Linked DNA regions of Homo sapiens: all the other regions are linked to region 4. The links are contacts of gene promoters, found by promoter capture Hi-C in human tissues and cell types (Jung and others, 2019). All regions are on one chromosome and are shown on one strand. Each heading gives the region's core, a stretch centred on a gene start or on the middle of the fragment in contact. The rest is flanking DNA. Distances are from core to core; before and after follow the strand shown.

Evidence for each region. The method cuts DNA at HindIII sites, captures the fragments that hold promoters and counts their contacts. A contact is called where the count stands out against the background at its distance.
Region 1: a fragment that was not itself captured here is called in contact with the fragment with the promoter of CDC42BPB in region 4 in 2 of the 25 tissues and cell types used here (dorsolateral prefrontal cortex and liver).
Region 2: a contact is called between a fragment that was not itself captured here and the fragment with the promoter of CDC42BPB in region 4, in 1 of the 25 tissues and cell types used here (dorsolateral prefrontal cortex).
Region 3: a fragment that was not itself captured here is called in contact with the fragment with the promoter of CDC42BPB in region 4 in 2 of the 25 tissues and cell types used here (lymphoblastoid cells and spleen).
Region 5: a fragment that was not itself captured here is called in contact with the fragment with the promoter of CDC42BPB in region 4 in 1 of the 25 tissues and cell types used here (thymus).
Region 6: a fragment that was not itself captured here is called in contact with the fragment with the promoter of CDC42BPB in region 4 in 1 of the 25 tissues and cell types used here (spleen).
Region 7: a contact is called between the fragment with the promoter of RCOR1 here and the fragment with the promoter of CDC42BPB in region 4, in 1 of the 25 tissues and cell types used here (dorsolateral prefrontal cortex).

Annotation. Positions count from the first base shown.
Region 1 is chr14:103,377,720-103,381,527 of GRCh38, forward strand. No RefSeq gene overlaps it. Among named protein-coding and RNA genes, the nearest start is that of MARK3, 5.8 kb to the right of the region's middle. The HindIII fragment of the contact is 6,371 bases long and covers 1-3,808 here.
Region 2 is chr14:103,403,043-103,406,988 of GRCh38, forward strand. It overlaps MARK3 (microtubule affinity regulating kinase 3), which reads left to right. Exons shown (of 18, transcript NM_001128918.3): 2 at 2,034-2,225. Among named protein-coding and RNA genes, the nearest start is that of MARK3, 20 kb to the left of the region's middle. The HindIII fragment of the contact is 3,197 bases long and covers 421-3,617 here.
Region 3 is chr14:102,650,100-102,654,032 of GRCh38, forward strand. The region is part of intron 2 of RCOR1 (REST corepressor 1); the gene reads left to right. Among named protein-coding and RNA genes, the nearest start is that of RCOR1, 59 kb to the left of the region's middle. RefSeq lists an enhancer at 3,169-3,668. The HindIII fragment of the contact is 4,634 bases long and covers 1-3,933 here.
Region 4 is chr14:103,055,002-103,058,911 of GRCh38, forward strand. CDC42BPB (CDC42 binding protein kinase beta) reads right to left here and starts at 2,548. Exons shown (of 37, transcript NM_006035.4): 1 at 1,998-2,548. The coding sequence starts at 2,172. RefSeq lists silencers at 2,220-2,299, 2,390-2,889, 2,930-3,039 and an enhancer at 3,035-3,685. The HindIII fragment of the contact is 24,533 bases long and covers 1-3,910 here.
Region 5 is chr14:103,355,229-103,359,032 of GRCh38, forward strand. No RefSeq gene overlaps it. Among named protein-coding and RNA genes, the nearest start is that of SNORA28, 19 kb to the left of the region's middle. The HindIII fragment of the contact is 3,148 bases long and covers 766-3,804 here.
Region 6 is chr14:102,754,338-102,758,115 of GRCh38, forward strand. LOC124903390 (a long non-coding RNA gene) reads left to right here. Exons shown (of 2, transcript XR_007064356.1): 2 at 1-3,778. Among named protein-coding and RNA genes, the nearest start is that of TRAF3, 21 kb to the right of the region's middle. RefSeq lists enhancers at 127-326, 397-566, 3,459-3,778, 3,487-3,746. The HindIII fragment of the contact is 8,282 bases long and covers 1-3,778 here.
Region 7 is chr14:102,589,995-102,593,898 of GRCh38, forward strand. RCOR1 (REST corepressor 1) reads left to right here and starts at 2,655. Exons shown (of 12, transcript NM_015156.4): 1 at 2,655-3,193; 2 at 3,272-3,331. The coding sequence starts at 2,893. RefSeq lists enhancers at 927-976, 1,258-2,073 and silencers at 1,652-2,961, 3,022-3,631. The HindIII fragment of the contact is 11,930 bases long and covers 1-3,904 here.

The sequences.
Region 1 (3,808 bases), core at 201-2,700, 320 kb after region 4:
GGTGCTCAATAAACACTGTGGATGGAAGGAACAAAGGAAGGAGAGAGGAGTAGCGGGGCAGCCACCGAAGGCTGATGTGGCTTTTCATGACTCCACCCAGTGAGGCCCAACTGGCTCCAAGGGTAGGGCAGCAGCCTAAGGAATGGAGGAAATGGTCTTTCCTCAAGCAGAGCTTAGACTTTATTGTCTTGGAAAAACCTGTTTGTATTTGGGAGATGTGCTTACTTTAATAGGTCAACCCTGCAATAATGGGCAGGTCTGAGGCTCCAGGAGTGCTGGGGTAGTCTATTCACCCCCTTATTCTTTCTCTCTATCCTTTTTTACCCACCTGCCTTGCAGCCAGTGGGTGTCAGAGCCAGCAGCAGACTGGAGTCTAAGGGCACTGCTTTCTGTCCGTGAGCTTGAGAAGGCTTCTTGCCCTTCTGAATCTCCAAGTCCTTGCCTGCAAAGCACAGGCAATGATAAAAACACTAACGCCTTATCTGGTGTTGCAGGATCCCTTACCAAGGGCTTCTACGTCTCCTATCGTGAGCTCAGTACTCAGTGAGGTAGGCAAAACTGGAGGAGGAAACCGGGGAGGAGGAGTGAGTCTCTAACTCCCCACGCTGTGTGGCCTAATAAGCCTTGATCTGTGTTCTACAGACTCTGAGCTCTGTGCTCCTCTCTGGGGAACAGGTGGAAAGGGCAGCCCTCCAGGAGGTGGTGAGTCCTCTGAGCTTTGGAAGGGTGGACTCTGCACCTGCTGCGCTGGTGCTCTCTGGGAATTTTCTCCACGGACCTCCAGAGCAACTGTGAGTGGTAGCTGTTACCATTCCCATTTGACTGGTTCAGAAACCTTGCCTGAGGGACATGAAGTCACTTGCCCAAGGTCCCCCAGCATTCAGCGTCATAGTCAGAGTTCAAACTCCAAAGCCCTTGCCTCTGCCTCACCACTGTGGTCTCCCTAGACCTTTAGATATAGTTCCAGACAGTGGGTTTTCCCAGCTCAGAGCAGAGTGGGTCATGGGACAGGGCAGGCTCCAGAGGGCTACGCTACCAGAATCTGGTAATGACAACTGTGTATGTGTGCGTGAGAGGCGGCTGACCGATCTAGATGGGGACTGACCGATCTAGAACTAGATGGGGATCAATCATCTTCAGCAGATCCGAGAGCTGGAGAATTACTGCAGGGGCAAATGGCTCTTTCTCTCCTGCATCCCCCAGGGCCATCTCTACACTGCGGTGAAGCATGGGACGTGGTAAAAGGACACCTTTGAGCTGTGGGAAAAGCTGACACGATTTTTCAGAATAGTGTGTTTAGGAAGGCGGGGGCGCCCATGTTCTTCCCGAGAGGCGTTCCATCCAGAGCTATCTGGAAAGGCTGGGGTACTGGAAGCCAGAAGGTGGAGAATCACTGATGCAGCTCTACTGAGTTTTCAGCTGGGCCCCACCCACACTGACCTAAGCACAGGAGGTTCGAGGGCTCTCCACTGACCAGGAATGAAAGGATCAATTGCAGAGTTTCGGCCTTGGAGCCCAGTCCTGGCTCTCCCTTTGCTTGCTCCTGACGTTGGAAGAGTTACAGCCCCTCCTGAGTCTCAGTCAGTCGCCTCTCACGTGCCCATTGACGTCTCACAGGCTGTTGGAGAGTTAGGGGGTCCTAGCATAGGTGTCTTGTGCCAGGTACACAGCTGGAGCTCAATAAATGTACTGTGACCTCAGGCAGGAAAAGCCAAGGAGGGGCGGGCCACCCTGGGGGCTGGTCTGCAGAGTCTTCAGGGAAGAAGCCAGGACAAGGACAAGGACCCTGGATGAGGACAGGATGAGAGGATGGCTGCATAACAGCAGGGAGGCTTTGGGCAGGCAGGGGAGCCTTTCCAGGTGAGTGAATGGCAGGAACACAATCTTGGAAGTGAGAATTCCTGGGGTGCCTTCTGGGCCTTGAAGCAGGGCTCACAGAGGGCAACAGGACCCCGCTGGAGTGAAGAAGGGGACTGGAGGGTAAATTAAAAGAATAGCAGCTTGTCTGCCCTCATCCCCGGTGTGGGGGGAGCAGCCTGGCATGGAGTCCAAATGGACCTCATATTTCCCAAAGACTCAAAGCATCTGGGGCCTACCTGGAATGTCCCAGGAACACCTACTGCCCGGCCCCTCCTCTTTCCCCTCACCAAGCATGATGACTGCAATGTCTCATAATTATCACACTCTGCTTTTCTCCATCTCTGTGGCTTTACATATTCTCAGTGTTCAGCTCTTGGTCTGCAACATATCTGCGTACAAACACGCACACACACACACACACACACACACACACACACACACACACACACTGAGGAATGGCTCCCGGGTCCCAGTAGTTCCCACTCTCTGGTAGAGGAGTTGTGTTTGTGAGGGCTGTGATGGGGTGACAAGCCTGCAGCAGCCTTTCCATGTTCGTCCAAACTAGATGTGGTGCAGAGAGCACAGGCCTGTGGATCAGCAGATGTGACACTTAGCATGATGGTACTGGTTAGGATCAAGCTAGGCAGTAACACACAACCCAACTGTAGTGGGTGCAACAAGCAGGTGCTTATTTTTTTGCAGAAGAAATCAGGAGGATGGCAATCTCACTGCTAGTGCAGGTGCTTGAAGCTGCCATCGGGGACCCAGATACTTTCTGGTGATAGTGTATATGGGGGGCGTCTGCTGGAGCTTGGGAGATTTGGACCCCCATTCTGGCTCTGTTGCTAACTAGTTGTGCAGCTTCAGACAAAGCTTCTGAAGCTTTGACTTCATTTCTTTATTTGTTTTTAAAATTGCAGGCTGAGTATAGTGGCTCCTGCCTGTAATCCCAGCACTTTGGGAGGCTAAGGTGGGAGCATTGCATGAGGCCAGGAGTTCGAGACCAGCCTGGGCAAAATGGCAAACCCTCATCTGTACAAAAAAAAAAAAAAAATACAAAAAATTAGCTAGGCATGGTGGTACATGCCTGTGGACCCAGCTACTTTGGAAACTAAGGCAGGAGGATCACTTGAGCCCCGAAGTTTGAGGCTGCAGTGAGCTGTGATTGTGCCACGGCACTCCAGCCTGGGTGACAAAGTGAGGCCCTATCTCAAAAATGAATAAATAAAATTGTGGTAACAACATATAACATAAAACCATCTTAACCATCTTAACCATTTTTAAGTGTACAGTTTAGTGGCATTGAGTACATTCATACTGTTGTGCAATCTGTCCTCATGTCTCTTTTCTTTCCAAACGGAAACTCTCCCTATTAAGCAAGAACTCTCTATTTCCTCCTCCCCACTGGCACCACCATTCTGCTTTCTGTCTCAATACATTTGACTGCTCCAGGTAACTCATAGAAGAGGGATCATACAGAATTTGTCCTTTTGTGTTTGACTTATTTCACTCATCATAATGTCCTCAAGTTTCATCTGTGTTGTAGCTAATGTCAGAATTTCCCCTCTTTTTAAGGTTGAATAATATTCCATTGTATGGACATACCACATTTTGTTTAGCCATTCATCTATGGATGGACACTTGGTTTGCTTTCACATTTTAGCTATTGTGAATAATGCTGCCATGAACATGACTGTGCAGATATTTCCTTGAGACTGTGTTTTCAATTCTTTTGGGTATCTATCTGGATGTGGGATTATTAGATCCTATGGTAATTCTATTTCTAATTTTTTTCAAGAAGCATAATACTGCTTTCCATAGAAGCTGCACCATTTTACATCCCCACCAACAGTGCACAGTTTCCAATTTCTCCACGTTCTTGCCAAAATTTGTTATTTTCTGCTTTTTTGGTAGCAGCTATCCTAATGGCTTTGAGACTCAGTTTCTC
Region 2 (3,946 bases), core at 769-3,268, 350 kb after region 4:
CCACCCCATCCCTGCCCCTCAGCTCTGATTTAGTTGAGTACGAATAGGATGACCCAATTAGTATGATCAGCTTTCACACATGAAGGTTGAATTTATGAAACATGTAAATTTGAAAATACATGTTTACATTGCAAAAAGCTTTTTTAACAAAAATTTTGGCCAGTAGTATAAATTCAGTGAATATGTTTTCATTGCACAGATAGTAAAACCACTTGATACATACCTCATGGGGATATGGACTGCTTTATGCGCTGCTTTTTACCACACCTTAAATAGTGCCTGGTTGTGTGTGTGTGTGTGTGTGTGTGTGTGTGTGTGTGTGTGTGTGTGTAACTCAGTAAATATTCAATGAATGAATGAAGAAATTCAGAAGATAAAAAAGAGAAATTTCCCTTATTTTTAACCTTCTGAACACTATAGTGGTTAGCATTTATATCATTTATTCAGCCATTCTAATATTTATTGAGTAGCAGTTTTGTACCAACTGCTGTTCTAAGATATAAGGAATAATAAATTCCTGTTACTGTTTTCATGAAACTTAAATTCTAGTGTAATTAAAATCATGTAGAAATAAACATAAACATGATCACCCAGCTTCTTTTAAAACTAGACTGCAGTTGATGTAATAATTTGCATTACAACAGCATGCATCTTGTGCACAACAAAATCTACCTGTTTTTGTATTAAAGCCTTAGTGTCAAAGCTTTATTATCATTTTAGTCTTTTATCAACTCCATATTTATAAATGGTCTATTTTCCCAAAGTTCTAATATGGAAATCAGAATCATTTTTGTTAGAGGAACAATGTTTACAAGTTGCCTAGATTTGCAGTGAGGTCATAAAAAGCCTGTTTAATCTAAAATAGACATTTGCAATAAAAACAGAAATTGTTGTTGAGATGCCATATTATGTGATAACTGAGTAAAACAGACAAGAGCCTATCCCCTAACCTGGTATGTGAATGTGAAAATATTAGAGAAATAATGAAGAAGTAGATGGAGACTAATGAGGAAATTCTGAAAAGGACATCTTTTGAGAAATTCAGAGGTAGATGGCGCAAGTTTTAAAGCTTACTTTCACTTTAAAACACCTGAGTTTCATTTCCTTTGATTTGAGTAAATTACAAAGCAGTTTATTAGTTAAATCAGGCTTGTTTTGATTTATAGGTATATAGAGAAAGACAGGACATTTTCCTGGACAGAAAGTTGGAAAAGAGAAACGTGTAAAGGGGGTGGAAAGTGGCTGTGAGTGCATGTGGAATGAGAAGCCTCCCTTGGGCAGGAGTTAACAGCCACAATGGGGAAAGGATTGGGACATCTAATCCTTTGAGTGTGTGTGGGGGCCAAGGGAGCAGTAGTAGCAGGATGCCTGCGCATACAGCCATGTACACAGTGTGTACACAGAAGTGTAATTCTTGGGCCTGAATATTTCATAGGGTAGAGACATATTGAGTACTTTATTAAGTAAGCATATTGAGTACTTTATTCATCTATACAACAAGGGTCGTCTATTAAGGGCCACACAGTCTAGCTGTTTCTGTAAAGCACATTGTTTTGAATTACTGTTAGCAGTGTAGTATAGAAGGAAATCGGGAATCCAGATTCTCTATGGATTTCCCCCTGAACAGTTATGTGGCTGTATCCTTATCTAGTGAATGGTGACATTAGCTTTTCCCCTGCTGCACGGGCTGTAGTGAGGCTCAGGTGTGCAGGTGCACTTACTAACATATGGAAAAGTTAAGCACTGTATAACCAGAAGGTAGCCCTTTTACTCCTATTTTATATGACAGCCACGTATGCAAAATATCTAATTTCTTCCTGAACACTCAATTGAACTTCAACACTTCGTATTTTTCGTCTCAGAATTTTTATTTTCCTCAAATTTATATTATGTGGTTAAATTCCTTTGAAGTGCTAGATACTTTAAGATTAAAATTAAAGTAGGAATGTTTTTTCTTCAATTAGAAGCTCTTAGAACTTGGCAAGTACTCTGTGTTCTCTCATTTCCTTATCTTTGTGTATGCTGTATTGCAGCACACGTCACATGGAGATGGGCGTCAAGAAGTTACCTCTCGTACCAGCCGCTCAGGAGCTCGGTGTAGAAACTCTATAGCCTCCTGTGCAGATGAACAACCTCACATCGGAAACTACAGACTGTTGAAAACAATCGGCAAGGGGAATTTTGCAAAAGTAAAATTGGCAAGACATATCCTTACAGGCAGAGAGGTAAATACCAGTTATGCTTATTTCTGTTATGACAGTTGCTCTGTTTATTTCCATGTAAGAGAAAGAAAAGAATATAGATATAGGCCTTATTTCTTTTTTTTAAGATGGAGTCTCGCTCTGTCACCCAGGCTGGAGTGCAGTGGCATGATCTCAGCTCACTGCAAACTCTGCCTCCCGGGTTCACACCATTCTCCTGCCTCAGCCTCCCGAGTAGCTGGCAGTACAGGTGCCCGCCACCACACCCAGCTAATTTTTTGTAGAGACAGGGTTTCACCGTGTTAGCCAGGATGGTCTCGATCTCCTGACCTTGTGATCCGCCCGTCTCGGCCTCCCAAAGTGCTGGGATTACAGGCGTGAGCCATAGCGCCTGTAATATATAGCTACTATGTATTACATGTATTACATGTCAAGTTCTAACCACATAATATAAATTTGTAATACATAGCTGGGATTACAGGCGCACACCACCACACCACGCTAATTTTTTTTTTTTTTTGTATTTTTGTATTTTTGTAGAGACGGGGTTTCACCATGTTGGTCAGGCTGGTCTCGAACTCCTGACCTCGTGATCCACCTGCCTTGGCCTCCCAAAGTGCTGGGATTACAGGCATGAGCCACCGTGCCCAACCTATTTTATTTTCAAGACAGGGCCTTGCCCTGTCACCCGAGCTGGAGTGCAGTGGCTCAATCATGGCTCACTATAGCCTCAACCTCCTGGGGTCAGGCAGTTCTCCCACCTCAGCCTCTCGAGTAGCTGAGACTACAGGCATGCACTGCCACACCCGGCTAATGTTTAAAAAATTTTTTTGTAGAGACAGGGTTCTCACCGTGTTGCCCAGGCTGGTCTTGAACTCCTGTGTTCAAGCAGTCCTCCTGCCTCAACCTCCCAGAGTGTTGGGATTACAGGCATGAGCCACCATGCCTCACTAATTAAGCTTTTTCTTTTTTGGGGGGTTAGGGGGGTGTCGGGGGTTGGGACGGAGTCTTGCCCTGTAGCCCAGGCCTGGAGTGAAGTGGCATGGTCTCGGCTCTCTGCAACCTCCGCCTCCCAGGTTCAAGCGTTTCTCTTGCCTCAGCCTCCTGAGTAGCTGAGATTACAGGCGCACACCACCACGCCTGGCTAATTATTTTTTTTTTTTTTGTATTTTTAGTAGAGGTGGGGTTTCACCATGTTAGTCAGGCTGGTTTCAAACTCCTGACCTCAGGTGATCTGCCCGCCTCAGCCTCCCAAAGTGCTGGGATTATAGGCATGAGCCACCACGCCCAGCCTAATTAAGCTTTCTCAAAAGAACATGAAACATATATTAGGTGTCTGGGAGTTTTTTGTTTTGTTTTTGTTTTTGTTTTTTTTCTGAGGCAGAGTCTCACTCTGTCACCCAGGCTGGAGTGCAGTGGTGCAATCTCGGCTCACTGCAAGCTCCGCCTTCTGGGTTCAAGCCATTCTCCTGCCTCAGCCTCCTGAGTAGCTGGGATTATAGGCATGAGCCACCACGCCCAGCCTAATTAAGCTTTCTCAAAAGAACATGAAACATATATTAGGTGTTTGGGAGTTTTTTGTTTTGTTTTTGTTTTTGTTTTTTTTATGAGGCAGAGTCTCACTCTGTCACCCAGGCTGGAGTGCAGTGGTGCAATCTCGGCTCACTGCAAGCTCCGCCTTCTGGGTTCACGCCATTCTCCTGCCTCAGCCTCCCGAGTAGCTGGGACTACAGGCATCCACCACT
Region 3 (3,933 bases), core at 617-3,116, 410 kb before region 4:
AGGCAGGAGAATGGTGTGAACCTGGGAGGTGCAGCTTGCAGGGAGCCGAGATCGCACCACTGCACTCCAGCCTGGGCGACAGAGCGAGACTCCACCGCAAAAAAAAAAAAAAAAAGAATCATAGTGGCCATGGGCATGGTGGCTGGTGCCCATAATCCTGGCACTTTGGGAGGCTGAGGTGGGAGAATCACTTGAGGTCAGGAATTAGAGGCCTGCAGTGAGTGCCACTGCACTTCAGCCTGAGGGACAGAGCACAGAGCAAGATCCTGCTTCAATAAATGGATGGATGGGTGGGTGGGTGGGTGGGTGGATGGAGGAATCATAGTGATCAGCAGTGCTTAATGACTGAGATTAGTCTATTCTGAAGTATGTTAATAAAGCTTGAAGGATCAGAGGAAGAGAGTAGGAAAAAAGCACACACATTCTACAAACCTCGCCACATCCACTCAGTTAAAAGACAGAACAGGATTCCCTTGGATGTTGGGAAAGGGAAGTCAGACGTGAAAGTTGTAGACAGGATTAAGCCACTTAATTTTCCTATTAAATGGACTCTAGAGAGTAAGTTCATGCTTCTCATTTTACTGATGGAGAAGCAGTACCACATACTTGGTGAAATTCCTGTGTCTGCAAAACATTGGTTATTCTGCAATTGTTATATATAAAGGGATAAACATTGAAGTTATTGGTCTCTTCCTTCTCATTGGTATTGTGGGTGTTCTTTACCAACTGAGTTAGGAACTGACTTGAGATATTTTAAACTTACGGGACTTGATTTAGAGCACTTACTCTTAGATGTTAAATATTTGGTTTGCTCTTTATTGAATAACTTAATTATCTTATTACTAATAATTCCTGTATTAGACAATGAGACTTAGACTCATAATAGAATACAGGTATCTTAATGAGAATGTTCTCATTTAAAACACTAACTCCTAATTCACTAGCAGCTAATAAAACTAACATTGTTGCACAGTACATTGTTGACTAGTTAGAAGAATTTGACAGTATGTTTGGTGCTGAGACCAGCTCGGTCGGGGAGACCCTAACCCAGCGGCGCTAGAGGAATTAAAGACACACACACACAAATATAGAGGTGTGAAGTGGGAAATCAGGGGTCTCACAGCCTTCAGAGCTGAGTATTGCTATTAATAAAGGGTGTAGAATTTGAAAATAGGCCAGGCGTGGTGGCCCACGCCTGTAATCCCAGCACTTTAGGAGGCCGAGGAAGGCGGATCATGAGGTCAGGAGGTTGAGATGAGCCTGACCAACACAGTGAAACCCCGTCTCTACTAAAAATACAAAAATTAGCTGGGCGTGGTGGCGGGTGCCTGTAATCCCAGCTGCTCAGGAGGTTGAGGCAGGAGAATTGCTTGAACCTGGAAGGCAGAGGTTGCAGTGAGCCGAGATTGCGCCACTGCACTCTAGCCTGGGCAACAGAGTGAGACTCCATCTCAAAAAAAAAAAAGAAAAAGAAAAAAGAATTTGAAAATAGCTTGAGAGACTAGAGAAGAAGTGAACTGATTTATTTTATATTTATGTATCTTATTTTTTGGCTTGTTGACCAGAAGTGAATTGATATGAATAAGCACACTTGCAAAATAAATGGGTTATTTATTTATTTATAGAGACAGGGTCTTGCTTTGTTTCCCAGGCTAGAGTACAGTGGCACCATCATAGCTCACTACTGCTGCTGGCAACTTCTGGGCTCAACGGGTCCTCCTGTCTTGACCTCCCAAAGTGCTGGGATTATAGGCATGAGCCGTCATGCCTGGCCCCCTAATTATTTAGATAGCCCTGTAGACCTGATTTCTTGTGGCTGAAGGTCTCTCAAATTGATTCTCAGTAGGCTTCATAAATAAAAGGGAACTTACACTGGAGGATCTTTATGCTGAATTGGCTTAGAATAAGTAGAAATTGCTAGGAATGTTTTATTTTTGTTTATTTAATTTGCTAAATCTGCTTTAGATATGAGCCTTGTAACTGGATTTCTTAAAAGTGTCCTTATGATTGAATCTATTTGTGGTGTTTGGATTGATTATTTTAAGTTCCTACTATGTACCAGACGTTTGCTACTTGTTTTAACTTGCTGTTTAATCTCTTTGAAGAAGGAACTGTTTCCTCCATTTTTATAGAAGAGAAAATTGAAACTTAAAGAGATTAGAGAACTCTCCTTCAGTCTAGGCAGAGCTGGGATTCCATTTCAGGACTGTTATGCTACACCAAATAAATGCTTGCTGCGTTAAAGAATGACTTAACAGTGAACACCTTAAGTCTTCATTGCCCAGTTACGTGAATGGAAGAAAGGCTGAGCAGTGAATTACAAACACTCTCTCCTCTAGTCTTCTGGCAGTGTTCCTTTACCTAATTCTGTGTCCTCAAACGCCCTGTTTTCTTTAGGTGATTATATTATTTGTTTCTTTTAAGCTTGCCTGTCTGCTTGTTCTTCTGAACAGTTCCCTTCAAATGTTACACCATCCACCCACATCTGTATTTCAGTATTTTATTGTGTCCTTTCATTGAGACTCTAATTTGGGTGAAAATTCTCCAAACTACATTTCTTTTTAGCATATTCTATTTTTGTCACCTAGAATCAGCCTCCCAGCTGACTTTTTCCCATAGATACGTAACAACCACCTGCTTTAACATTTTCTATCTTCCACTTAACAAAAATATTACTGTTGATAAATAATGAATACTTAGCATGTATAACTGTGCAAATAAAATGGGAGGAATGTGTATCGGGAAGATTTGAGGGGAGTGTGGATAAAAAACTGTTTGAAAATACCAGCTGTTGAATTTTATAGTGTTACTCTTTTTATTTTTATTTTTTAGTTTTATTATTACTATTTTTTGAGATGGAGTTTCGCTTTGTCGCCAGGCTGGAGTGCAGTGACGTGATCTTGGCTCACTGCAACCTCTATCTCCTGGGTTCAAGCGATTCTCCTGCCTCAGCCTCCCGAGTAGCTGGAACTAGAGGCGCGCGCCAGCCAATTTTTGTATTTTTAGTAGAGACAGGGTTTCACCATGTTGGCAAGGATGATCTCGATCTCTTGACCTCATGATCTTCCTGCCTCGGCCTCCCAAAGTGCTGGGATTACAGGCGTGAGCTACTGCACCCAGCCTATTATTATTTTTTAATTGAGACTTGTCTTACTTTCACCCAGGCTGGAGTGTAGTGGTGCAATCTTGCCTCACTGGAGCCTCCGCCTCCTGGGCTCAATCGATCCTCCCACCTCAGCCTCCTGAGTAGCTGGGACCACAGGCACTCGCTACCGTGCCCAGCTAATTTTTTCTATTTTTGGTAGAGACAGGGTTTTGCCACGTTGTCCAGGCTGGCCTCGGCTTCCCAAAGCGTTGGGATTACAGGCATGAGCCACCACGTGCAGCCTATAGTGTTATTCTTTAGTAGTTCCTAAAAGGCTTGTGTTAGATGTTTATAGCTGATAGTTGTGGTTTGAATCTGTGTCCCCAGCCAAATCTTGTGTCGAATTGTCATCCCCAGTGTTGGAGGTGGGGGCCCATGATTGGATCATGGGGGTGGATATCCCCCTTGGTGCTATTTTCATGATAGTGAGTGAGCTCTCGGGCGATCGGGTCGTCTAAAAGTGTGTAGCACCTCCCTCTTGTCTCTCTTGCTCCTCCTCTGGCCATGTTATATGTGCTTGCTTTCCCTTTGCCTTCCACCATGATTATAAGTTTACTGAGGCCTCCCTAGAAGCTGAGCAGATGCCAGCATCATGCTTCCTGTACAGCCTGCAGAACCTTGAGCCATTGAAACCTCTTCTCTTTATAAATTACCTAGTCTCATCTCAGGTATTTCCTTCTTTCTTTCTTTCTTTCTTTCTTTCTTTCTTTCTTTCTTTCTTTCTTTCTTTCTTTCTTTCTTTTTTTTTTTTTTTTTTTTGAGACGGAGTCTGGCTCTGTCGCCCAGGC
Region 4 (3,910 bases), core at 1,298-3,797:
GGACCACATCTTCCCAGCAAAACCAACTTTCCCTCTGCTTCCTCTTCCCAGTCACACTCACAGGTGGTGCACCAAGTTGAACCTGACAGTGGAACTGTGTGGGTTTCAAGATCGAGTGATCAGAAAGGAACGGTAAACAAGCTGGGTGCAGTGGCTCACGCCTGTAATCCCAGCACTTTGGGAGGCCGAGGCAGGTGGATCACCCGAGGTCAGGAGTACAAGACCAGCCTGGCCAACACTGTGAAACCCCTTCTCCACTAAAAATACAAAAATGAGCCGGGCATGCTGGTGCGTGCCTGTAGTCCCAGCTACTCGGGAGGCTGAGGCAGGAGAATTACTTGAACCCAGGAGATGGAGGTTGTAGTGAGCCAAGATCATGCCACTGCACTCCAGCCTAGGCAACACAGTGAGACTCGTCTCCAAAGAAAAGAAAGAAAAGGTAAACAAAATATTCAGATTTTAACATGCACCAAAGACCTCACTTTCAAAGCAACGGTGAAGTCAATTAATTATTCAGTTGGAAATCGTGTCACTGACAAAGGACGCTAGAAAGCAAATACTCTTAATTTACTGATACTATAAGTAACCAAGAATGGTGGTTCCCACGGAAATAAAGCATCACAGGCTGTCCTTGATCTCAGGACCTCTTTCTACTGCTGCTCTCACAAGATACCGTGTAACATTTCACTACAGAGTAATCCAACAGAAGCCCTCTAAAGAATATTGCAACTTAAGTTTTATTTGTAAACAAAATTCCAAATTCCAGTCACCAATCTGGCAGAGTAGAGTAGGAGGCCTGGAGGCCTCACTGTGGAACACTTTCATTTGTTTCTTCGTATAAATATCAGCTTTATCAGCCCCAAAGATTAGAAATTACTGGTTCGAACTGAACAGTCCTAGCCCAGTGACGCAAATGACCCAAGGATAAGGTTTTCATAGGTTTGGCCTGAACATACGCATTTCCTCCTCCTACTCAGTGGTTTTAGGTGAGACAGTCTGAGGGTCTTGACCGGCACACCCGTTAGGGAGAGATGAAGTAAAAGAGTTTCACGCTGCACTTTTACCTGTCTTTAGGATCCTAATTATCGTTAAATGGTTTAATCAAATTTTTGTCCTAAAAAAGCATAATAGGTTAGCTGACCAATGATTAAAACATTATAGATCCGGAACGAACTAGAGAAGGCATGCAAAATTCAGATGAGAAAGTTTCTAAGTGATAGCTCCAGCTACCCCTCCAAATATCACAAAGGTCTAGCAGAATTGGAATTAAAAAAAAAAAGTCCTCTTGCACGGTTTATTTAAAATAAAGCCTTAACCTTAAAATTCCCTTGAAGGTGTTACAGCAAAGTAGGTATTCAGGCTCTGACCAACAAGGGGATGTAGACAGGCTGTCACCCAGGAGGGGCCGTTAGAGCTGGGCTCCCTGGGGATGCAAGGGGGTCCCACGGGGCAGTGGGCGAGGCAGATGCAGAAAGCACACCCAGCTGCCCCCACAACGCAGAGAAGCGTGGGGTGGGGAAAGGGAACTAATTCCACACTGCCTCCGGACCCCAAAGGCGAGGTGCGGGGGCGGGGGCGGGGGCGGGGGCGGATATCCCAGTGAGTGCTGCAGGAAATGATATCCAGACTCGGAGGGTGGATCTAGGAAGCCGCCAGGGCGAGGGCCCGGCGGGGGGGAGGGGGTGGGAGTGGGAACGTAGGATGTGGCTCCAAGGGGCAGGATGAGGGGGCGGGACGATCGAACGCGGATGTCGAGCCTAGGGAGGGCAAGGAGGGATGAAAAGCTAGCGGAGGGACGAGGGTGCAAGGAGCGGCTGGAGAGAGATGGGCTGCGGGCCTGGGGGCGCTGCCAGAGCGAGAGGAGGCGAAGCCCACGAGCTGGGTGGGCAGGAGGGCGGCAGGGTCTGTCCGGGCGGGGATGGGCGGGCGTGGGGATGCGCGGGCTGGGGCGCGGGGGTCGCAGAGCCGCAGGTCCGGCCCTGCCGGCGCGCACTTACCCCACTCGAGGAACTCGGCCACGTACTTGTCGCGGCGCAGGGCCGAGTGGCTGCACTCGGTGTACAGGCAGACGAGCACGTCGAGCAGCGTTTCCACGCTCAGGGCGCTCTCGTTGCGCCAGGGCCCGTCCAGGAGCAGCTGCTCCAGCTTCTTGAGCCGCACCTTGGCCGACATGGTGCCGCGCGGCCCGCTCCCGACGCGCCGGCCTCTCACCGCCGGCTCGGCCAGTCCGTCAGGGCGCGCCCTCGGGGGCTCGGCGGCTGCGAGCCCCGGCAGCAGCGGCGCCTCCTCGCCGCCCCGTCCGCGTCGTCGCGCCCCGGCCTAGGCCGACATCTTGGGCTCCGTCCCGACGGCGCAGAGTCTGGGGCGCCGGGCCCCGCGGGTCCATGGGCCGCTCTCCTCCCCTCGGCGCCGCCGCCCTCCCAGCTCGGGCGGCCCGCCCCCGCCGCCCTCAGCCCCGCCCGCGGCCGCGCCCTCCCCGCCGCCGCCGCCGCAGACTAGGAGCGGCGAGGAGCCTAGCGCTGCGCAAGCCCGGCCGGCGCCCGAGCCCGACCCCAGCCCCGACCCGGCGGCCCAGCCCCGCGGCCCGCAGCCAACCAGGGCGCGGCCAGCACCAGCGCAGCCAACCACTACGGGGCCGGCCGCCGCCGCGCTGACCTCAGCGCGCCGCCCCGCCCCGCGCCCGGCTCCCTGCTCCCGGCGGGCTCGGGCCTCGCCGCTTGCCGTAGGGAGCCGGGATGCTGGGAAGGCAGGGCCGGGCCTGGGGAGCGGCGCGGGGTGGGGGTGGGGGGGGCGGGGCGGGGCGAGTGGGCCGCTGAGATTGCGGAGCCCGCGCATGCGCAGAGCGCGCCTGGTGGGCGTGTGCGCCTTCGCCCTGCGGACCCGGTGCCTTCAGTATTCGGGGTCCGACCGCGCGCGTCGCGGATCCCGGGGCCGAAGACGACCCCAAGTATCGGAGAGGCAGAGTCGCGATCTCAGGCCGTCGAGCCCCGTCCCGCAGTCCGCGGGCCCATGTTGCCTGCGGGGCCTCGGACCTGCCCGGCCGAGGTGGGGGTCGAGGGCGGCCCGGCAGGCGCAGCTCTGATGGCCTCGGCGGGTTGTGGGCTATTTAAAACGGCTTGTCCCAGCTCGAAGCGGTCCTGGAAGACTCGGGCCCTACCCCTGACTTTACCGATGAGAGACTGAGGCCCAGACGGTGTGGGGTCAGGGCCCAGGCTTCTGGGGGATGCTGCCAAGGCGGGAGCCAGCGTCCCCAGTGCCCGGTGGATTCGTGATGGCTTGCAGAGGGTTTCAGTTTCCACTGTCCAGCCCTCCCTGCAGACCAATGCCTAGGTGTGACAGTTTGGTAGGAAAGGGGCCGGATATTTGTCTCCAGGCTGGGTTTGCCTAGCGAGTCGCTGCATTTACTAAGATTGTTGGTTAATTTGGGTGGCTGGGGGAGGGAGGCTGATGGAGATACCCCCCAACCCCAACAAACCCTTGGCGTCAGGAGAGGAGGGGCTTTTCCTGGAGCTTGCGGAAGGTCACCGAAATCGTGGGGGTATCTGAGAGCTTCTGGGGCGCGCGGGTGCAGGGGAAGGGGTCATGCTTCCGTGGAAGCGGTGGCCTCCAGGTGGAGCCGATGAAGGGGCAGATAGGGGTTTGAAGCAGGACGTTAAGGGAGCCTGAAGCAAAACTAATCTCTGGAGCTAAAAATAGGAGTGGGCCTGGCGCGGTGGCTCACACCTGTAATCCCAGCACTTTAGGAGGCCGAGGTGGGCGGATTGCCTGAGCTCAGGACTTCGAGACCAGCCTGGGCAACACGGTGAAACCCCGTCTCTACTAAAATACAAAAAACTAGCCGGGCGTGGTGGCGCGCGCCTGTAGTCCCAGCTACTCGAGAGGCTAAGGCAGGAGAATTACTTGAACCCGG
Region 5 (3,804 bases), core at 1,090-3,589, 300 kb after region 4:
GTTCAAGCGATTCTCCTGTCTCAGCCTCCCAAGTAGCTGGGATTACAGGCACCTTGCCACCACGCCTGGCTAATTCTTGCATGTTTAGTAGAGATGGAGTTTCACCATCTTGGCCAGGCTGGTGATCCTTCAGTGATCCACCTTCAGTGGTCACTGACCACTGACCTTCAGTGATTCACCTGCCTCGGCCTCCCAAAGTGCTGGGATTACAGGCATGAGCCACTGCGTCCGGCCAGAATGAACTCATCTTGGGAAGTTCTAGCCATCAGACAGTTTCTAGCAGGGTCCAGGAGCGCATCAGGGCTGCTTTTTGAATGGTTTGTAGTTCTCTGTTGTGTAAGGCACAGACTTTCTCCAGAACCCAGGGGGTCTGTACTGGGAAGTAGCATCTTTCCCAACCACAGCCCCCTCTAGTTCCATTGCACCTGCTGAGTCATGGGTGCATGCAGGAAGCTGCTCTTGTGGCAGCCTGGGCTGCTGGAGAGCTCTTTCTGCTCCTGGCCCAACGCAAAACCAGCAGTCTTCCATGTGACCTGATGAATGGGTTAAACTGTCCATGTGGAGGCTCCTGAGTCTCCGTAGGCTTTATCTCCAGTCCCCTGGATGGCATGTGTCTTACCACGGCATCTGCTCTGATTAACGTGACGCCCTCTATATGGTGGCCAACATGCTGTTTTGCAGAATGTCTAGATGGTTCAGGGTGGAGGAAGATAATGAGTATCAAGTACAGCCTCAGGGCATTGGCAGCAGCCAGACTGTGGTTCTTCCCACTAACTCTCGTCTTGTAAATGTCCCCAGAAAAGTGTGACCAACCAGAGTCACGGAGAAGTCGTGCCTGGTCGGGACCACCTGGCAGTGAGAAGTAAGTGGGTCTGAATGGGGCAGAAAGGTCAGAGGCTGGCCCCGGATGCTGTTGAAAGTGTCATATCAACACTGTGCTGATTCCCTTCAGGGTTCTTTTAGAGGAGGGAAATAAACATTTGCCTTGTTTTGCATATTTTTTCTTATGCATGCAGCCAAAACTCGTCAAAGCTGGTATATAGGGGAAGATAAATACCCCCAAGAACAACGTGAGTGTCAGAGAAATCTCCCGCCCAACATCAGAAGAGATAGCCTAGCCAGAGCAGCCCAAACACACCATGAGCAAAATGAAAGTAAACAGCTTGGTAGATATGCAAGCATACACAGGGCCACTACAAGGAAGCAAAAACGTCAGTGTCATGAAGCACCAAAAAATAAATAAATAAATAAAATAAAATTTAAAAGTCTTCTTTAATCTAGAAAGAAGGTTGCTATGGACTAAACAGTATCCTCCCAAAATTTCTATATTGCAGACCAAACTCCCAGTGTGATGGTATTTGGAGATAGAGCCTTTGGGAGGTCATAGGGTTAGATGAGGTCAAAGGGTGGGGCCTTCATGAGGGGATTAGTACTCTTATAATAAGAGACACCGGAAAGCACTTCTGTTTTTCTTTTCTTTTCCTTTTCTTTTCTTTTTTTTTTTTTTTTTGAGACACGATCTTCCTCCATTGCCCAGGCTAGAGTACAGTGGCCCAATCTCAGCTCACTGCAGCCTTGACCTCCCGGGCTCAAGTGATTCTCTCACCTCAGCCTCCCAAGTAGCTGGGACTACAGGCATGTGTCACCATGCCCAGCTAATTTTGTTAATTTATTTATTTTTTGTAGAGACAAGGTCTCATTATGCTCCCCAGGCTGGTCTTGACTCCTGGATTCAAGCAATCCTCCTGCCTCAGCTTCCCAAAGTGCAGGGATTACAGGTATGAGCCACCACACTTAGCACAGAAAGCATTCTTGAGTGTGTTCTCTCTTCTCTCTCTTCTCTTCTCTTCTCTCTCTCTCTCTCTCTCCTGTCTCTCTCTCTTCTCTCTCTTCTCTTCTTTCTCTTCTCTCCCTCTCTCTCTCTCTCTCTCTCTCTCTCTCTCTCTCTCTCTGTCCCCTGTGGGGGTCACAGGAAGAAGACAGCAAGCCAGGAAGAGAGCCCTCACTGGGAGCTGATCATGCTGACACCACGATCTTGGACTTTCCAGCCTCCAGAAGGACAAGAAAATAAATCTCTATTGTGTAAGCCAATCAGTCTATGGTATTTTGTTATGGCAACTAAAGCAGACTAAAGATACATTTCTGCTAAATGCAATGTGTGATCCTCAGTTGGAGTCTGATTTTTTAATTCAACCTGCAAAGGAAAAAACAAACAAGGACAAGTATAAAAACAGATATGGTGAAATTCAATCCAAGGCAGAAAAGCAGGTGTCCCCAGATCCATCTCCCCATAAAAGAGCTCATAACAGTGGCTCACGCCTGTAATCCCAGCATTTTGGGAGGCCGAGGCAGGTGGATCAGTTGAGGTCAGGAGTTCGAGACCAGCCTGGCCAGCACAGTGAAACCCCATCTCTACAAAAATACAAAAATTAGCCGGGCATGGTGGCAGGCACCTGTAATCCCAGCTACTCGGGAGGCTGAGACAGGAGAATTGCTTGAACCTGGGAGGTGGAGGTTGCGGTGAGCCAAGATCGCGCCACTGTGCTCTAGCCTGGGCAACGGAGCAAGACTCCATCTAAAAGAAAAAAAAAAAAAAGAGCTCATAAGACTGTGACGTGGTGAGGCAACAACTCAGAGACAGGGCAGGAGCAGACAGAACCAAGATAATAACACTGCACATCTAATGGATAATGAAACAGCAAGAGGCCAGGCACGGTGGCTCACACCTGGCAGCTCCCACCTTCCAGCACTTTGGGAGGCCAAGGCGTGCCATCTTTTGAGCTCAGGAGTTCGAGGCCAGCCTGGGCAATATAGTGAGACACCGTCTCTAAAAAATATACAAAAATTAGCAGGACATGTCTGTGCATGCCTGTAGTCTCAGCGACTCTGGAGGCTGATGTGGGAGAATCACCTGAGCAAGGATGGGGAGGCTGTGGTGAACCAAGATGGGGGCAGGAGAATTGCTTGAACCTGGGAGGCAGAGGTTGCAGTGAGCCGGGGTCATGCCACTGCACTCCAGCCTGGGCGACAGAGACAGAGTCTGTCTCCAAAAAAAAAAAAAAAAAAAAAAAATACAAGCTTTGGAATTGGCCTGTAGTAACTGAACTTTCTGTTTGAGGTTTTTCTGGTGATTAACCTCTAACTACTATATAACACGGGTACATAGCTATAAGTTGCTGTCACTTTGAGACATTATCCCTTGGGGTCTCAGGTGACACCTGTAGAGGTGACTCACCACCCCATCCCCCCACATCTTCCTCTCAATGTGGTTATTACTATTTTCTATTATTATTTTCATTTTTTTTTAAACCGAGTCTCACTCTGTTGCCTAGGCTGGAGTGCAGTGGTGTGATCCCAGCTCACTGCAACCTCCGCCTCCCAGGTTCAAGCGATTCTCCTGCATCAGCCTCCCTAGTAGCTGGAATTACAGGCATGTACAACCGCTCCCAGCTAATTTTCGTTGTTGTTGTTGTATTTTTAGTAGAGATGGGGTTTCACCATGTTGGCCAGGCTAGTCTCCAACTCCTGACCTCAAGTGATCCGCCTACCTTAGCCTCCCAATGTGTTGGGATTTCAGGTGTGGCTCACACCACGCCTGGCCATTATTATTATTTTCAATCCCTCTATTGGTTCCTTCCATAAGCTTAAACATAATATTTGCGATTTTATTACTGGTTCTTCTATCCATAGAGGCTTCTCTTGATTCCCAACAAGGGAAGATGAAGATATTTGTTTCTCTAACCTTGGCTTTATAACCTCCACCTTCCAACTCCCAACTTAAGTCGTCTGTACTATTACTTTTAT
Region 6 (3,778 bases), core at 357-2,856, 300 kb before region 4:
GCCCCGAAGAGTCACTCAAGGACACAACGGAGCCAAACACCCTTTTTCATTTATTTGGATAGGTGGAATTTAGTTTTAATTATTTAAGAGAATACTTCATGAGATATTTTCAAAGAGAAATGGGATCTTAATAATCTGGGGCTCATTACACTCCTAGGCCATGAAATCTTTATACATCTCTGCTGGAGGTGCAGAGCAGCAGCCGGGCCTGGAGGACTGTGAACTTGGAGCGTGAGTGAGCAGAAGGTGGTGGCTGTGCTGTGTTAGAGGCTTCATTTCCTTGTCTGGGGTCCTGAGTTCAAGGGTGAGGCCACTTCCCAGGTGAAGTCACGGGAAGGAGCAATTCCAACAATGGCCATTGACAATGAGGAGAACGGAGGCAGGCTGGACACAGTCACCAGACTGCGAGAGCCGGCCTGAGGAGACTTGGAAACTGTCCTCCGCCAACCTGGCTGAATTTCACTCTTACTAAAGTTAACCCCACTCGAAGACTGGGGAATTCCAGCACCTCAGGGGAGAGGCTGAGTTATTTTTGCAACCCCAAATTAAATGATGCATGGTCGCTGGCTGTGCATGCCACGGGGCTTGATTTCCATTCCCCTGATTCACTCTTCCCTCCTCCAGGGCGCTCAGGCTCATGGAAACTGAGGGAAGCTCAGGGCCCTGACGACCCACCAGGCCCTGGCCAGGACACTGCATCCTGCTGGAAAGGAATGCCCCGTGAGGGGCTCACGGTGGATTTTTAATCCCTGTTCAGGTTCCCTGCCCTCACCCGAAAGGCCCCCACCCTTGAGCTCCCCCGGCAGCCCTGCATCTCTCTGGGGTCTTCCCAGGATGTGCTACAGAAGCCCCAAGCTGCACACGACCCAGCTCCTCACAGGCCTTTCTCCCAGACCCACTCTCCTTAGGCCCCCTGCCCTGGGTGTCTGGGCCAGCCAGACCGCTTGCAGCCTCAGCAACCCCCAACAGCCAGCTGATCATCAAATCCTGTCAATGACAGATCCTGAGCCCACCTCAGACCAACCCCTATGACCCACTTGCCAGTTGGAGTCCTGGCCTCTACTCAGACCCTTGACATCACTGTCCTCCGGTCTGACTGGTGGCCACAGTGGCCACCCACTCTGCCTGCGCCTGCCTTGGTCCACACTACCAGGAGTTTCCTTCCTGAAGAGGATCCAAGGATCCCATCACACATCTCAGCAGCCTTTGCCTGGACCCCTCCAGATAGGATTCAGACCTGCCCCTGACCTCCCTACTGGCCCTCTGTGTCCTGAGCACATGGCACCCTGGTATCTCTCTGCCACAGCCCATCTTGGGTCTGCTGCCTGAAGACCCCTCCTCTCCTCCCGAGCATGGAGGGCCCTGGGTGATCTTAAGAGGCGGCGGAAGCATTGCCTCCTTTCAGAGCCTTAGCAACTTGATGGACGTTATGGAATAAATGAATGAGTTCTTCTCCAAAAGAGGGAGCAGGGGTTCTGTGTTCCTTCTGTCCACCATCATCACGGAATCAGAGCACATCTGAGATGGGGGGACACAGCAATCCTTTGCTCCTCTTCATTGATTACAGGGAAACTGAGGCAGAGGTGGAGCCAGCCCCTGGCCTCCTGACTCCCAGGACAGGCCAGAGGCTACGAGACCACAGCCTCCCGAAGGGGACTCCCAAACTGCAAGACCGGACCCTGGGCTCCCCATGGCTGGAGCAAATGCCTCTGTATGTCCTCCCTCTGGAAATTCCTCCCCGAGGGACCCTCCGGAGAGAAGGATGTGACACTAACTCAGGACTCTCGAGGGTTCTTGGGGCACCTTTGAGAAGAGTCCAAGGCACTAAAATAGACTGGGTTCCCAGGAGTAAACAACCAAAAGGCTTAGTTAGACTCCTACTTGGAAAGTATGCCTACCTGTATCCCTATGCTGCTTAAACACCCCACCTCAGCAGAACCCCGCTAGGCACTGGGGCCCGGGTTCCCTGCATCTCGCCCACTGTGTCGGCTAAGACCATTTCAGCTGCAAGTATGAAACCTGACACAAATGGCTTGCGTGATAAGGAAAGTAGTGGCCTTTTCCAAGGAAGGACTCTTGGCTCTAGGCTCACCAGTTTGGCCCCTTGGTGGCATCTGCCTCCCTGCCTCCCTCCCTCCCTCCCTCCCTCCTTCCTTCCTTTCTTCCTTTCCTCCCTCCCTCCCTCCTTCCTTATTTCTTCTTTCTTCTTCCTTCCTTTCTTTCTTCCGGCAGAGTCTTTCTCTGTTGCCCAGGCTGGAATGCAGTGGTGCAATCTGAGCTCACTGCAACCTCCACCTCCCGGGTTCAAGCAATTCTCCCATCTCAGCCTCCTGAGTAGGTGGGATTACAAGGGTGAGACACCATGCCCGGCTAATTTTTGTATTTTTAGTAGAGACGGAGTTCTGCCATGTTGGCCAGGCTGGTCTCGAACTCCTGAACTCAAGTGATCCACCCGCCCCAGCCTCCCAAAGTGCTGGGATTACAGGCGTGAGCCACCACATCTGGCTGGCTCTTGGTGGCATCTTGAAGGCCATTTTCTCACCCTTTATCTCTGCCAAGCTCAGTAGATAGGATTCTGTGTGTCTTCTTTTGACCCAACCATCAGCAGCAGCAGGGAAGGCATCTTTGCCTCTGTCTTTTCTTTCTTTTTTTTTTTTTTAGATGGAGTCTTGCTCTGTCTACCAGGCTGGAGTGCAGTGGCGCGATCTCGGCTCACTGCAAGCTCTGCCTCCTGGGTTCACGCCATTCTCCTGCCTCAGCCTCCCGAGTAGCTGGGACTACAGGCACACACCACCACGTCCAGATAATTTTTTGTATTTTTAGTAGAGACGGGGTTTCACCGTGTTAGCCAGGATGGTCTCGATCTCCTGACCTCGTGATCCGCCCGCCTCGGCCTCCCAAAGTGCTGGGATTACGGGCGTGAACCACAGCACCCGGCCTTGCCTCTGTCTTCTTATCAGCCAAGAAGCCTTTCCCAGCATTCCTCAATAGCCACCCCTCACATCTCATTGGCTAGGATTGGGTCACATGCCCCAGGCTAAGCCAATCATTGTCTAGGAGAATCATTGGCTTAGCCAATCAGAGCCTATGCCTGAGGCACACAGGGCAATGCCTAGACCACAGGACAAAATTGGGCTTTGTCAGCAAGGAAGGAGGGGTGGCTGTTGGGTGGCCTGTGAGGCTGTCACCCATGTCCCCTCGCTTGTTCTGACAAAGGTTTTCATAAAAGAGCCACTTCTAGCCTGTCGTGGTGGGACCCTCAGATGTCCCTGTGCCCTCCAGCGTCTGGGCAACCTGAGGTTCTGGTAGGAGGAGAAGGCTACTTTGTAGAAGTCTGGAGGGCCTGGAAGAAGACATCTCTGCCCAGACAGTCCATTTAGTGTAGCTCGGGCCACCCCTTGCCATCCCGTGTCTAGCAGGTGGCCTGGTGAGTGTGGACTCGTCAGGAGCCGGGCCTCTCTTCCTGCTATCGCCCTCAGTCCAGCCGTGAGCTCAGCCACCACCTCACCAGTGCACACATCGGCCAGACAGCCACCAGCATTGCCTGCCTTGGGTGCCATGGGGGTTTGGCCTGAACTCTTCACCAAGCGCGGCTCACGAAGGAGCTCACTTCATCCTCACACCAGCCCCAGGCGTTGCTGACATCCAGAGCTGGGGAAAGGGCAGGACAGAGGTTGAAGGAAGTCACCCAGAGTCCCACAGCTGGAACGTGGGGGAGCTGGGATTCTAACCCAGGGCTCACACTGTCGCCCACACCCATCCAGGTGAAAGTTTGTTT
Region 7 (3,904 bases), core at 1,405-3,904, 460 kb before region 4:
GGGGACACAGCCCTGCTGGATGGGGTGATGAGAGGCTGGGACGGGAAGGGGTGGAGGAGGTGAGTGTAGGGAAGTCTACAGAAATGTCTGAAGGGAGGGAGAAATGGCCAGAGGCAGGAGAGGGTTTGGGGGCAGGAGTCGGTCCAGAGTGAGGCTGATGGCACAGAAAAGCCTCGAGGGGAGGGCAGCGGGATGGGGTCCTAGGCCTGAGGAGGACGTGAGTACCCGACAGGGAAGTTTGTCTGTTTGGGTACTGGGAGAGGAGAAAGATCCTGAAGGCTTTCGTTTTTCTCTGAAGAATGAGGTAAGGCCACGGGCTAGGAGCCCAGGCAGAAGGGGCTGTGGGAGGTGTAAGGAGAGGGGAGCAGGCATGAGGTCTCACTTTCAGAGTGGGAGTCTCACCGAAAAACATGATAGGGCTGCCGGCTTTGTGGATGCGTTAGAAGTGTGGGATCACAAATTCCCAATCCCAGGGCTGTGTGTGGAGCCCTCTCCCCAAGCGATGGGAAGGCGAGTGTCCTTAACGTTGGGGTTCCCTATGCTGGAAGGATGGACTCTATTACAGTCCATCAGGCCAGGAGGTAGGTACTGTTTCCTGTATTTTACGGTTGGTAAATCTGAGAGCTTCAGGCCAATACAGTATCGGTGTAGCATTAGGGTCAGACAAAATAGAACAGGGCCCGGCACATATTAAGTGTTAATATTCGTTGGAAAAAAAAAAAAAAGAATGCTTGTCAAGTCCACTGCTGCGCCCCTACTGGTAGCCCAGCCTGGCCTCAGCCTTGGGGGCTGGTGGGTGGAGAGGGCGGCCTTGTGTGCTCTGCTATCCCTATTGCCTTAATGACCCAGTATCACCTTTGTGCCCTTGTAGGTTGATCCTTCTAGTCTCGTGGCAGAACTTTGTAGACACCAAGCGAGCGGGGCAGCGTGTTCTGGACCTCATTCCTCACACAGGGCTCACCTCCGGATGAGTCAGAGGCCTTAGCCGGTGGCCCAGCCCCGGGAATGCCACCCCGGTTCTGTACCCTGCCCAGGCCAGCTGACAGGGTGTATTGGGGCACACACCTGCAGCATCCAGGGCACTCCAAGGAGAGGGACGTACTTTTGAGGAGAGTCTAAAAGTCTAAGTCCCCCACCTGAACTTGGTGGGGGAAGGGCTTCTATACCAGGAGGGCTCCCAGCCCTGTTTCTTAAAGGCCATTTAGGCAGAAGTGAACGTGGTCTCTTCAATAAAGTTAATAATGGTTCATGCTGCAGAAAATGTTCAAGACAAAACCCTGCTTATTTACTCAGGCTTTAAAACCATAAAACTCCCAAATTCTCCCTGTAGCTATTTATATCCAGAGCTAGTCCCCAAATTAAGCTCAGGTTTGAAGTAACTTAAAAGAAAAATAGCCTTCCCTGCTTTAAAAAGATTTTCCGTATAGACCTCCACTGGTCTAATTACGAAGGGCGCGTAGTTTCAGGGTTGGCTGGGGGTAGGGCACCGGGACCTCCAAGGCAGTTACACTCCTCAGCCTCCTAACAGCTGTACGGCTGCCCGGTGGTCCCTCTCCAAGGCAGCGGCTCTCAGGCTAGCCTCAGCCTACCCCACCCGCCCGCACCCCGTGTTCTCCCTCGTGGGGGTGCCGGGGGGAGTAGGGAGGCGGGGCGGGCGGCAGGTCCGGAAAAGTGGCTGCCCTCGCCCCGAAAGAAGTTGACCCTCCTCCCGTGCCGAGAGCTTGGGATGAAAATAGCTTCTTCCTCTTTACCCTTCCTGGACCCCCGCCCCAGGACGACTGGGCCCCTTCATTCATCTTTCAGCGGCCACCCAGGCGGCTTGGGCGTCCCCACGCCGGGACTCTGTGCCCCGGGGACCCACGGGGACCCTCCCTTGGGCCTCTGAAGCCGCGGCGCACCCCGCACCCAAGCCACCCCGGGGGCCCCGGCCTCCCCCACCCAATTAGCGGGCAGCACCGCAGACCCGAGTCCCCACGCAGCTCGCGCCAGGGGAGGCGGCCGCCTGGGAAGCCCGTCCCCCGCGCCGCGGCCCCCGCCCCCGCCAGCCCCGCGTCCCCTGGGAAAGGCGGGGGCGCAGCGAGTTTCCCCCAATTAGTTTCCTCTTTGTATGGAGTCTTAGCGCGCCCGTACTCCTCCGCGCAGCGGAAAGTAGTCCCGGCCGGGCGCTCCGCGGCTTCCCAGCGCCAGACACATTTTACTTTGAGAAGTCGACGGGACTCTCAGCGGGGTCCTTCAGATGGGGGGCCAGAGGCTGCGGGAGGCGTGCGCGGGCAGCAAGGGCAGGGGCCGCGGCCAAGGGTAGGGGGCGGGGAGGGCCGCGAACTCCTCGCCGCTGCCTGGAGAGATGGATCATGGGGCGTAGGGAGATGGCAAACCTCAAACCACGTACGGCGGGCGATACGCGTCAACCGAACCTCGCCAACGGAAGCCCGGAGCCGCCCCTCCCCGCTCCCCCGCCCCGCCGCCCCGGACGGACGGGCGCGCGGAGCCAACCCCGCTGCCGCTGGCTGTCCAAATCCCACCAGAGCCAATGGGAGCGCGAGGGGGGGCGGAGCCATCTCGCGTCAGTTGGGCTGCGCGCCCCCCTCCCCCGGCGCCCCTGCAGGCCCCGCCCCTGCCTCCTCCCCTCTCCGCTCGCTGCTCCCGGAGTAGTTGGTGCCAGTGAAGTGAGGGCGGCGATGAGAGCGAAAGTTGCGCTCGGCTCGTCGCTGGGGGCTTGAAGCGGCTCCGCGCTCTGCCCGTTTGGGCCTCCCCCGACTCGGACTCGCGCCCGTGGGCTCCCGCCGCGCCCGCCCGGCCCCGCGCCGGCCCCGCGCCCCCTCCCCCGTCTCGGCGCCCCCTCCTCAGGAGCCGCGGGTCCCCGCCACTTTCGCACGGCCCCGGCCCCCGCCGATGCCGGCCATGGTGGAGAAGGGCCCCGAGGTCTCAGGGAAGCGGAGAGGGAGGAACAACGCGGCCGCCTCCGCCTCCGCCGCCGCCGCCTCCGCCGCCGCCTCGGCCGCCTGCGCCTCGCCAGCCGCCACTGCCGCCTCGGGCGCCGCCGCCTCCTCAGCCTCGGCCGCCGCCGCCTCAGCCGCCGCCGCCCCCAATAATGGCCAGAATAAAAGTTTGGCGGCGGCGGCGCCCAATGGCAACAGCAGCAGCAACTCCTGGGAGGAAGGCAGCTCGGGCTCGTCCAGCGACGAGGAGCACGGTAGGTGGCAGCCGCCCCCGCGGCCCCGGGCCCCGCGCCCCGCGCCGCGCTGACCGCCGTATTCTGCTTCCCCCGCAGGTGGCGGTGGCATGAGGGTCGGACCCCAGTACCAGGCGGTGGTGCCCGACTTCGACCCCGGTGAGTAGCGGCCCCGGCCGGCCGGCGGCGGGGATGAGCGGGAGCCCCGGGTCCCCGGCGAGCCCGAGGGGGCGGGAGCCCGCCGACAACTTTCTTTTTGTGCGTTCGCCCTGCCGTCCGTGGGGAGAACAGCAGGGCGAGGACGAGGAGGCGCACACGCACACGAGTGTTCTGCAAACGTGCCTCTGCACCCGGGGGAGGCCAGGTCGCCCCCAGCAGGGCCGGCGCCGCTGCCCCCTTGCGCCTCCGAGGACTGCGGGTGGCGTCGGAGGTGGCCACACCTGGCCTGGGGGCGCTGGGGGTCCCTGCGTCCAGGTGAGCTGCGCCTCGGCCAGGGGTAAGGGTGGCAGTGCCGGAGAGTTAGTGTCCTGCGAGCGCCCCGGACTTAGGAGGTCCCCAGAGACCCCTTTCTCGGAACCCTTCCCAAAGGCTGCTCCCCACGCCTTTGCTCCTCCTCTCAGCCTCTGGGCTCTTGCTGGCTCCTGACTGCCCTCCCATCCAGAAGGCGAGTAGAAGAACGACCCCCCAAAACCAGTCAATAAAAGAAGTGTGTTTTCCAGAGGGCGCCTGCCT